2 separate regions of the Homo sapiens genome follow, and region 1 is linked to region 2. The links are contacts of gene promoters, found by promoter capture Hi-C in human tissues and cell types (Jung and others, 2019). All regions are on one chromosome and are shown on one strand. The core of a region is centred on a gene start or on the middle of the fragment in contact, and the rest is flanking DNA. Distances in the headings are between cores, read along the strand shown.

Region 1 (5,849 bases), core at 2,931-5,430, 490 kb before region 2:
TGATGCCACCACATCTGGAACCCTCAAGCCGGGACAACGGCCCTGTTCAAAGGGCAAAAGTTCACGTGCAGTTTTCTCCAAGGCTGCCTCAGCTGCAGGAACCGAAGCCTCCCCAAATTCTCCTCCATCTGAGTGGTTTCCAACCATAAAGCAGTAGTATTTCCTGTTTCCTTTTAACTCCTCAAGTATCTCCACACTAAAGCAGGGGCTGCTTTAGCTGGAAACAACAAACTCGACTTTGTTTTCAACAATGCCTATGGGCCGGGGACCATGCAATACAAGAGACCTAACCAAAATGAATCGAGTCTTTGGGAAGCCGTATTCCACCTGGCCTGCCCTCGAAGACACCAAGGAAGAGAAAGATGACAGAACAGCAGATGAGCAGATGCTGAAATGCTCACCACAGCCACAGTCCTGCTGGAGGAAGTCCCAGGAGGAAGTGAGAATTCACACCGGGCTGTCTAGAAAGAGAACTTTGTGGCAGCAGGTCGGCCCTTGGAACAGCAGAGTAAGGGCTTGGGAGCGTGGAGTATGGCGGGTGGTGGGTCCCAAGCTGGGCTCTGAGGACTTGGTTGGGGGCAGTCACAGCCCAGAAGCTTAGATGTGGGGCCAGAGGGCAATCAAGCCAGCCCCTTGATGTGCGTGGCTTTCACCACCCTCCCTAACAACCCGTCTGTCAAGAGCTCCCCTCCCTACCAGATAGGATGCTTTAGCAGGGTGCTCTCCCAACCTCTCAGGCACCCAAAGCTTCTGTGGTTTCTTGGGAACTCCTCCCCCTTAAATCTCCCCACCCAACTCCTCTCCAGACCCCCACACTCTGCAAGCCCAGGTGCTCACTCCACACAAGTCTAATAATCCAGGCAGGGACTCTTCCACCAGATCCATGCTTAAGTCCAACTCGAGGAATATTCTTTCCTTAATCTCAACTCTGAGGTCAGGCCTTGGAGATCTTTACAGGTGAATCAACATCCTGTTTGTCTTCCAACGTGTCATTAATGGCCTCCCACTCCTGACACCCCTTCCCCCCCTCCTCAGATTCCTCAGTCAGCATTTAATTAGGAGGAATCTCCTGGGACATTCTTTCATCAGAGCCACTGGAGACAAAACTAAGATGAAGCATTTTACACATTTCCTCATTTGATGAAAAACACCGGAAAACACTTTAGTAACGTGACTAATATGAATTAGCACTACACTTTTGGCAAACTATCTGTCACTAAAACTAACCTTATTTACTCCAATTATTGTTTTCTCCTTTTCTTTTTTCTTTTTTTTTGAGACAGAGTCTCGATCTGTCGCCCATGCTGGAGTGCAGTGGCGCAACCTCAGCCCACTGTAACCTCTGCCTCTCGGTTCAAGTGGTTCTCCTGCCTCAGCCTCCCGAGTAGCTGGGAGTACAGGCACGCGCCACCATGCCCAGCTAATTTTTTTGTATTTTTAGTAGAGACGGGGTTTTGCCATGCTGGCCAGGCTGCTCTCAAACTCCTGACCTCAGGTGATTCACGCGCCTCGGCCTCCCAAAGTGCTGGGATTACAGGCGTGAGCCACCTTGCCCGGCCCCTACTCCAATTATTGTATGAGACAGAGACGACTGTATCTGCTACTTTACCTTCATGTTCTGAATTTGAGTTTACCATTTGGAAATCAAACCTGGTTAAATGGATGATGATGAAAAGAGCAAGTATAACACAGATATATTCAGAAAGATTAATTACCCCTCGCTCAAAGAATTGATTCCTACAGTAAAGCATTTTTTTGTTTGTTTGAGACAGAGTCTTCCTCTGTCATCCAAGCTAGAGTGCAGTGGCGTGATCTTGACTCACTGCAAGCTCCACCTCCCAGGTTCAAGCGATTCTTCTGCCTCAGCCTCCAGAGTAGCTGGGACTACAGGCACGCGCCACCACACCTGGCTTATTTTTTTTTTATTTTTTTTTTTTTGTGATGGAGTCTTGCTCTTTCACCCAGGCTGGACTGCAGTGGCGCTAACTAGGCTCACTGCAAGCTCCTCCTCCCAGGCTCACGCCATTCTCCTGCCTCAGACTGCCTAGTAGCTGGGACTACAGGTGCTCGCCACCGCGCCTGGCTCATTTTTTGTATTTTTAGTAGAGACAGAGTTTCATCATGTTAGCCAGGATGGTCTCGATCTCCTGACCTCGTGATCCGCCTGCCTCGGCCTCCCAAAGTGCTGGGATTACAGACGTGAGCCACCGCGCCCACCTTTTTGTATTTTTAGTAGAGACCGGGCATCACCATATTGGCCCGGTTGGTTTTGAACGAGATCCACCTGCCTGGGCCTCCCAAAGTGTTGGGATTACAGGCATGAGCCACCGCGCCTGGCCCATAATTTTTAACAAAGTCTTAAGGAACAGTAAAGCAAAGGGATCAACCACCTTAACTGTGCTAAAGTTCATCAACTGGGAATCAAGTGCTCCAGTGCTGAATAGACAACCATTGCCTCAAAGAACCCAATGGACAAGAGCAATTTAAACTCTAATTTCATATACAAAACAGGAATGCTTGAGTAGAAAGGCAAGGGAGTGACCACTAAGCCCTGTTATTTAAAAAGAAAAACCAAACAGTAAAACATACACCCACACTTATAAAAGGAAAATCACAGCTAACAAACGCCTATTTCTATCCTGGGGATGACTGTCATTTCCTGGGAGGTCAATTCTCTGAGTAGAGGGCTTGGTCAAATGAGCAATGGAAACAGTTGGAAGTTGTGGGGAGGCACAGGAGGGTTGGCATCTCAAACCCTCATTTCCACCCACAAGGCTGCCTTAGCAGTAACTCCAGATTCTCACTTCCTGATCACGGTCATGCCATGCTGAGAATGGTCTCAGTCAGGCTTCTCAAACTTGAAGAGGGATCCGAACCTTTCTGGGAAGCCTCCTGCATGGCAAATGTTGGCTGCCAAGGCACAAAGCCAAGCGCAGTCATGTAAGCTCAACTGAAAGACCCCGCAAAGTTAGTATAAGGCTTGTGAACTGCCTTGAATAAATATAGGTAACAACTTCTTCAAACAGGCTTTTTTGTGAGTTTCAATCCTGCACAACTCCCAAGACACGGTTCCTCGGCTCCACAACTCTTGATAAATAAAGGTAGCAAAAGGTTTCTATTACCATCTACCCAACAGCATGAGCATTTCGCTTGATGAAAGACAAGCTGCAAACTAACCTGGAAATTCCTGTCCTTTTGCGAAGACAGTGGGAAAACTAAGCCAATTAGAAAGCAGATTGAAAGATTCCTTACCTGACCCTTCCTGGACATCCCTAAAGCAACCCTTAATATGAGCAAAATCCCCTTCGAAAAATCATACTATATACTACGGACGCATCTTCTAAGAGGTGCTGAGTGGGTGCTGCGTGCTGTGGATGGAAAGGATGGAGCGCCAACTCTCTAAATGCAAGTCACCAGGGAAAAAAAGGGCCGCCCATATCAACCCCCACGTCAGCGTTAATTCAAACGTCCAGAATGTGAAACAACGCCAAGGGTTCTGTTTCCAGAGCCAGCAAGTACCCTGGGACAGAGAAGAGAAGGCGTTCACACACCCTGGGCAAAAGAACCTAGTGAGAAAAAGAAAGTAGAATCACAGCAAAGTCCGGGGTCTAGGAAGCCTCCTCCACCAAAGAGCAAAGAGGGCGAGGAAGAGACACCCCCAAGGTGAATCGACTCAGGATCCTCAAAGGCAGTGGACGCCAGGGCGCCATCCTCACCCTCCCCTCCCAGGGTAGGGGATCGGGGCAAGCTGGGGAGGAGCTGGCGACAAGGGAGCGCGGGGCTCGAAGCCCGAGGAGAGTCGCCCGCTCCCGCTGAAGTCTCCTCCGCACGAAGCAGGGCGTGTGCAGGAGCCGCAGGCCGGGAAGGCCAGGACCCTCCGGGCTGGCCCGTGAGGCCCTCACCTTGTCTGAGTCCAGGTCGGGATCGGCCTGGCATAAGCGGTACAGGAAGGATTTCGGGTCCCGGCACAGGGTCTGCCGAGTGGTGAGGAAGTAGGTGCCGCCGACGTTGAGTCGGACCCACTTGGACACGCTGCCAGGGCGCTGGGCCAGGGCGCCGAGCCCAGCGCTGCAGCGGCGGCACAGGCCGCCCCCCAGCCCCGCCCCGATGCCGCCCCGGGCCGGCGACAGGAGCTCGCAGTGATTCTCCGCCATGATCCCAGCAAGCCCCGCAACAGCTCCCTTCCACCGGAAGCGTCCGGCTTTTAATAGCGTCCTCTGAGTTCTGTCCCGCCCACAGGTCCGCCCTGGTAGAGCGCCCGCCCCGGCGTCACGCGGTAGGCGGAAGTTCCGGTCCCGAAAAGCAGGAGGCTGGGCCCGCTTCCGGCGGGAGCGGAGCACGGGGTGATCTGGGCACTAACGCTGATGGGGAGCAGCGGACATCAGCCTCGACCTCCCACGAGCGGTGCACGAGCGCCTGACCCAGACCTCGACCCTAGCCTTCACCCCCACCCTGACTCCAGTTCATGAACTGGTCAAAGGAAGAGCCATGCCAGCAAACGTCTACACTGTACATGCTTTTTATTACAAGACTACGGAGCATAGGAGGAAAATTCATCATCTGGTAACTACACCTAAAGCACAAATATTTGGGGGGAAAAAAAGAACAGATTCATTAAATTATATGATTAAATCATTGACCCAATAGAAAATTTATATAATAAGGGCGGGGCCTGGTGGCTCACGCCTGTAATCCCAGCACTTTGGGAGGCCGAGGCGGGAGGATCAGGCGGTCAGGAGATCGAGACCACGCTGGCCAACATGGTGAGGCCCGGTCTCCACTGAAAATACAAAAATTAGCCTGGCGCGGTGGTGGGCGCCGGTAATCCAAGCTACTCGGGAGGCTGCGGCAGGAGAATGGCGTGAACCCGGGAGGCAGAGGTTGCAGTGAGCTGAGATCTCGCCACTGCACTCCAGCCTGGTGATAGGGCGAGAGTCTGTCTCAAAAAAAAAAAAAGAAAGTTTTTGTAATAAAGCCAGAAAAAAGTTGTAAAATATATAGTAATTATTCACATTCAAGGCTGTATATCAATACATATAACAACGTGGCCCCGAACATGAATTCAATACAAATAATTCATATATTAGAATTTAGGCCGGGCGCGGTGGCTCATGTCTGTAATCCCAACACTTTGGGAGGCCAAGGTGGGTGGATCACGAGGTCAGGAGTTCAACATCAGCCTGGCCAAGATGGTGAATCTCCGTCTCTACCAAAAATACAAAAAATTAGCCAGATGTGGTTGTGGGCGCTCGTAATCCCAGCTACTCGGAGGCTGAGGCAGAGAATTGCTTAAACCCAGGAGGCGGAGGTTGCAGTTAGCCGAGATCAGGCCACTGCACTCTAGCCTGGGCGACAGAGTGAGACTCCGTCTCAAGAAAAAAAAAGAATTTAAATAACAGGCTGAACTAGAGGCCAACAATAGCCAGCAAATAACCTTCTATAAGATTAAAAACACAAAAGTGTATATCCTAATACCATTGTATTATTTGTTTTCATGAGTTCTTTTAATTTTTGCTTTGTCTGTACATCACAGTTACAGCTACAGACCAGGTAGAGAATATTACGCATGTTCTGACTGCCACCCACCTGAAAGACGTACTAGTCATTTATCCTATTTCATGTTGTGAAGGAACAGCTACAGCAGCTCTAAATACTGTAACAATTTAATTTTGCCAACATCCAACTTAACAGTCGTAATAGAGGCTTTTACCAGCACAATGACCCCTATTCGTAGTCATTCTGCCAGACGGTTAGGCTATGTGGGTTACACAGCTTAAAAAAGGTCTGCCTTTTGTAAAAAGTTCTCTGTACATAGTTTGGTGTTTCTTCATATGGAAGAAATGAGTTAT
Region 2 (6,089 bases), core at 3,231-5,730:
ATCGCTTGAACCTTGGAGGCGGAGTTTGCAGTGAGCCAAGATCGCTCCACTGCACTCTAGCCTGGGTGACAGAACAAGACTCCGTCTCAAGAAAAGAAAAGAAAAGAAAAAACTTTCTACAGTGCACTCAAACTAGAACTCAGGATGAAGAAACTCACTCAAAACCACTCAACTGCATGGAAACTGAACAACCTGCTCCTGAATGCTGACACCACAGCGTAAACTTTCTGTTTGTTTGTTTTGTAGAGACGGGGTCTCATTGTCTTGCCTGGGCTGGTCTTGAACTCCTGGGCTGAAGCAATACACCCGCCTCTGTCCTGAGAGGTGAGTGATTACAACTCTCACCACCCAAAGTGCTGAGATTACAGGCATGAGCCACCATGCCCAGCCAGTACATTCTTTTTCTATGGCTAAGTAATATTCCACTGTATGACTAGAGCACGTTTTATGTATCTTCTCGTCCATAGGTGGACATTTGGGGTGTCTCCTCCTTTTTGGCTGTCATGAATGGGGCTGCTGTGAATGGTTGTGTGGTTGTGTGCCAATGTCTGAGAACGTGTTTGCATCTCTTGGTAAATACGCAGAGCGGAATTGCTGGGCTATAGGAGCATTTTACCTGCCTTATGCATGGAGTCCTCACAATGACTCCAGTAGGGAAGAATCACCCTCATTTTGGAGATGAGAAAACTGAGGCTCAGAGATGCAGAATTGCATGTGGAGGGCATAGGGCTAGAAGGTGGTGGAGCCCAGGGTTTGTTCAGCTCTAGGCCGGGCCCCATCCTGCTGGGGCTCCACCTGCCACTGATCATGCCCCTTCTGGTGAGGTGACTACTCCCCAGGCAGCCCCTGCACCCCATAGTCCTCCTCATCTTCCTCTCGAAGTAGACAGGGGCTCTCTAACCAGGCTCTATACCAGGCTTGGGGCAGCTTTGGGGAGTAGAGGTGAGCATGTGGGCTTGGATGGCTGGGAGAGGAAGCGCCTTCGAATCCCAGCAGTGTCTGGAGCAGCATAGACCCGGGAGCAGAGAGCAGGAGACAGGGTGGGGCTGAGGCAGGCTCAGCTAGGTGCGTGGGGTCCTACGTGTCTCAGGGCCCTGCACTGTTTGCCTTTTCCGTGGGGCCTCTGGGCGGCACATGGGGGCTGAGGGCAGGGGCCAGCTCTGGGAGCCTGCATGTGTCCCAAGCCTAGGGGAAGCTGACAAACTGGTCGTGGCCCCAACCCAACCTGAGTAGCTCCTGCATTTCTGTGGGGCAGGAGGCTGGGACGGTGGTGTGTGGGGGTCGATCCTCGGTGATGGTCCGGGCCCCAGCTCAGTGCTGTCAGAGGCGGTGCCACAAGAATGAGAGGAGCCACAGCAGCCAGCCCATGGGAGGGCACGTTCCTCATGCCCATACCAGAGCTTTGGGGGCTTGGGGGACCACCAGGGAGCCCCTGAGCAGACACACAGCCAGTGGGCAGAGGAAGGGGCTGCGGGCTGGCCGGCACACACCGTACATCTGGGAAGGAGGCCAGCCCAGGCTGCAGTGAAGCCTCCGCCAGCTCCATTCCAGGCTGAGCCTCAGCAATTCTGCTGGCTCAGAGGCCCCCTCCCAGGATCATCCTTGGAGGCTTGACTTCCTGGAGGGCTGCCCGAGTCCCACACCTCTGCATCCTCATCCCCCAGCCAGAGTGGCCACCTGCCCTGCCCCCCCATCCCCAGGCTGCAGGGACCCCAGGCAGACACACATCTGTTTTCATGGGGACCTTCCCGTCAGCCCTAAGCTGCAGGCGGAGCTGCTGGCCCATTTCACAGATGAGGCAGCTGAGCATCGGGGACTCACCCAAAGTTACTGGTTACAGCATCAGATCCAACGCTTCCCAGTCCCTCCTGGGCTTATCCTCACCTAGCAGAAGGCTCTGGTCCCCTCCTGCCACACTGCACCCCATGGGGTGAGGAATCTCTGAGGTCCTGAGCAGCAATCCACCTGGAGCCTAGGTGCCCCTTCTAGACCACACTCTGAGCACGTAGGACCCTGGAGTTTCCTGCCCAAACAGCCCCAAGCCCACTTCCAGGATCGGCACAGCCCTCTGCCCAGTCTGTCCTCCTGAAGGTGGGCCACGCAGCAGGGTGCCCACCCTAGCTCTGAGGAGCGACTAAGGGGGTGCCTGTTTATGGGGTGTGGACAGTGCTGGAGCTGAGCAGAGAACAGGTGAGGTAGCTACAAACGGGGGCCAGTTCATCACCCGAGGAATCTGAGAATTCTCAATTCGAACTTGGGCTTTCAGGCCATGATGAAGGTATATTTGTCAAGGTAGGAGAATAGAACATACTTAACAGGTGACTGGCGTGATTTGTAGCGTTTAAATATTTGAACATTTGGTGTGTGGGCTTCTGTTTGTGTGTTAAGCACAGGTCAGGGTGGTTTGCCTTAACATGTCCAAAACATAAAAGTAATAGTAATGCCAGCAGCTATCTTATTTTTATTTTTAGTTCTTCCTATGTGCTCTTCACACTGCAAGGTAGCGTAGATACAAAGATGCACAAAACACAGTTGCTGCACAGGCAGAGAGGCCCAAGAATATCACAATATCTACAGCAGCCATTTTTTTGAGCACTTACTAAGTCCTGCCGTGAAATGCTTTGTGGATAGTATCACAATTTATCCTCCAGTAACCTAAGGGGAGGTAGCATGCATATCCTCATTTTACAGAGGGGCACAGACACTTAGGCAGTGGGCTGGGTGTGGTAGCTCACGTCTGCAATCCCAGCACTTTGGGAGGTTGAGGTGGGAGGACTGCTTGAGGCCAGGAGTTCGAGACCAGTCTAGGTAACATACTGAGACCTCATCTCTATTAAAAATCAAAAAAAATTAGCCGGGCGCTACTCAGGAGGCTGAGGCGGGAGGACTGCTTGAGCCTGGGATGTTGAGGCTGCAGTGAGCTATGATGGCGTCACTGCACCCCAGCCTGGACGACAGAGCGAGACCCTGTCTCAGAAAAAAGAATGACAAAGTGACCAGCTCATGGTCACAAACCACTAAGAGGGGGAATAGGACACATCCAGAGGTGCGGGTGCAAAGCCCAGACTTACAACCTCAAGACTCTGGGACCCCAGGTGAGCCCCTTGGCTTCTCTGAGCCTCAGTTTCTTCATCTGTAAAATGGGGACAGTGAGTCCAACCTCATCTAGGAGGTGACCAGCACAGTGCCTGACCCAGCGGGTACTCAACTGGTCATTGGAAAGGGCAAGAGGAAAGGCCCTAGCATTTGGGGACCCCTCCCAGGAGTGCTGGAAGACCAAGGGCTGCTACCTGAACCTAACAGGAGACCCCACGGAGGGAACGGGAACGGCCAGCTGCCCACAGGATGCCGGGACCCCGGTGCCTGTCACCTTCCCTGTCCCTGCTGTCTGACCTCCTCTGTCCCCCTGGACCTGCTCAATGGTCTGGGGCCACACAGAGTGGGGTGCCAGGCCATGCCTCATAGAATGGGTGCGACCCTCCCCAAATTCTCCAAACGGCCTTGCCCGCTTGGGTGATGAGGGAAACGGAGCCTGAGTCGGGACTCAGACCCCCACTGATCTGCCTCTAGAATGCTGCAGGCCTGACGGGAGAGGGCCTGAGGCGCAGGGTGGCCCAAGCCTTCAGCCAGGAGCTCAGAGGGTCACAAGTCGGGGCCTCCAGCACCCAGGAAGCAGGACTCGCCTGCCTGGGCTGCAGGCTGGAGAGTGGGCAGACGTGGGCCGGGGGTCGGTTGGTGCCGGCGGGAGGTTCCAGCCCCTGTGGATGGAGATGGAGGCGACCCCCAGTCGGTGCGGGGAGTGGGGAGTTGAGCTCCCTCAGTGGGGGTGGTGGGGGCTACCTTGGGGTCAGGCTTCGGACTGAGGCTGGGGGAAGCTGTGGCGCCCGCATTATTTGCGGAGAGGAGCAGGAGGATGCTTGGGGGTTGGGGGTGCGGGTTCCCTGACACCGAATTCATTATTGGGAGATTCCTCTTCACAATCCCTCGACACCTCCCACGGGAACCCTGGGCCAGGAACGCCTGACAGCCTGGCGGGCCGGCTCCAGGGGCACTGGCGCCCGGGTCTCTCGGCGCCCGGTCCCCGCCCGCCCGCTGCCTCGGAACCGTCCCCCGCGGGTCCCGCAGCCTCTGGAAGCCTCTCTGGGCTCAGCCCCGCGCCGCCGCCGCGTCGGGGCTCCCAGTGCACCCCCGGCGGCCGCGTCCCCAGCCCGGCTAGCAGCCCCAGGCCGCCCGCGTCCGCAGAGGCCTGGCCTGAGCGCGCTGCGCGCACGTGGGGAGGGGGCGTCCCGGGGCGGGCGCGGGGAGGGCGGAGCCACGGGCCCGGGCGCGCGGCCGGCGCGGGCTGACGGAGGTCGGCGGCCCGGGAGCGGACCCCGGCGTCCGGGAGGCGGCGCCAGGTGCCGCGCCCCCGCCCCGCGCCCGCCGCGCGCCCCCGCCCCCGGGCCGCCCCCCGCCCGTGACGCGCTCCCCGCCCCCTCCGCGCCGGGAGCCCGAGCCCAAGCCGGAGCCCGAGGAGGGCGAAGGGGCGGCGGGCGGCGAGGAGGCGGCGGGGGAGGCGGCGGGGGAGGCGGCCGGTGCCGCGGGGCCGCCGCCGCCTCTGAGCCGCGCCGAGCTCACGAGCGCAGCCGCGTCGCTGCGGCCCCGGCCGCGCCATGGGGAAGGAGCAGGAGCTGGTGCAGGCGGTGAAGGCGGAGGACGTAGGGACCGCGCAGAGGCTGCTGCAGAGGCCGCGGCCCGGGAAGGCCAGTGAGTGCCGGGGGCGCGGGGCGCGGGTGGGAGCCCCGGGGGCCCCTCCCCGGCGCGGAGCCCCCCACCCGGCGCCGGGCGGGGAGGGGACGTTGTCGGGTCCCCGGGGGCGGGGCGGGGCCAGCAGCGCCCAGACCCTTGGTCCGTGCCCTCCACCCGCTGCCCCCAGCACTGGAGATGGGGCGGCCCCGAGAGCCGGCCGCCACCGTGAGCCCCGCAGCGGGCACCTGGCGGCACCCGCCTCCCGGGCCGCGGGCGTTCGCATCCCTCTCTCTCTACCTCTGTCCCCCTCCCTTCCCAGGCTGCGGGCTGACAGCTGGAGGTCTCTGCTGGGGCCTTCAAAGGGCGAGGCGGATGCCCCCCCCACCCACCACACGCACCGGGAAGACAGGGAGGGGGCCCCTGCGGCGAGGGGCGACCCGGGAGGTGACAGTCCCTAGCAGACCCCCTCCCGCCCCACGTTTAATAACACGCTTTGCAGGGAAGGTGGGGGCAGGACCACGCTGGGGGTGTGGCTGCCCTGGCATGGCCGGTGGGGTGCCATTTACTGATGGGAGAGCAGAGGCCCAAGGTCGCCCAGCCCAGGGCAGGCTGGACTCCAGGCAGGGCCGGCCTGGGCGCAAGGGCTTGGGGCCCTGCTCAGGCAGGCTCCAGCAGAGCCGGGTCTCCAGCTTCCCTGCTGGGAAAGGAGGCCATGAGGGAGTGGGGGACCACCACTGGCCATCCCCAGCTTGCCCTATGGCCGGCCCCAGGAAAGGGCTGGGAGCTTGGAGCCCTGGTCCCAGCACTCATCCTGGCTCAGCGCGTAGCCTCCCTGGGGGCCGCCGGAGATGGATGGATGGGCGTGTGGACCAGCCGCGTGTGCGGCTGCGCACGTATAGCCGTGTCAGTGTGTCAGGGCACCTGTGCGGGCACGGACAGGGCTCTGCAGGTCGGCACGTGGGGTCTGGGCGTCCTCCCTCCTCCCTCCACCCCCACAGACTGTAAGCCAGAGAGTCCCCCTCCCCTTCCTCCAGGGGGATGCCGAGAACTGGGACTGGCTTCTGGGAGATTGTTGGGGGCACCTAGGAGTCCCAGGAGGACCCCCTCCCCCGTACTTCACCAGCAGCCCATGACTGGCTAGCTCCTGTCCACTCTGTGCAGTAAGAGAGAGGGGGCACCGGTGCCTTGCAGGCTGGCCCCGAGCTGATTTCAGGTCCGGGGGCTCAGAAAGGGAGAGCTTGTGGGCAGAGGCAGCCTCAGCTGAGCCTGGAGAGCAGGTGTAGGGATTGAGGGAAGGCAAGGTAAAGGTTTCCACCTAGTGGCCGCATGACCTTGGACACAGACAACTCCAGCTCAGTGGA

Evidence for each region. Contacts are between HindIII fragments. The study calls those that stand out against the background at their distance.
Region 1: a contact is called between the fragment with the promoter of KCTD5 here and the fragment with the promoter of CASKIN1 in region 2, in 1 of the 25 tissues and cell types used here (lymphoblastoid cells).

The regions. Positions count from the first base shown.
Region 1 is chr16:2,680,854-2,686,702 of GRCh38, reverse strand. It overlaps KCTD5 (potassium channel tetramerization domain containing 5), which reads right to left and starts at 4,180. Exons shown (of 6, transcript NM_018992.4): 1 at 3,903-4,180. The coding sequence starts at 4,154. RefSeq lists enhancers at 3,498-3,547, 3,618-3,667, 3,212-3,822 and a silencer at 3,918-4,097. The HindIII fragment of the contact is 14,940 bases long and covers 1-5,849 here.
Region 2 is chr16:2,194,996-2,201,084 of GRCh38, reverse strand. It overlaps CASKIN1 (CASK interacting protein 1), which reads left to right and starts at 4,480. Exons shown (of 20, transcript NM_020764.4): 1 at 4,480-4,746. The coding sequence starts at 4,653. The HindIII fragment of the contact is 36,898 bases long and covers 1-6,089 here.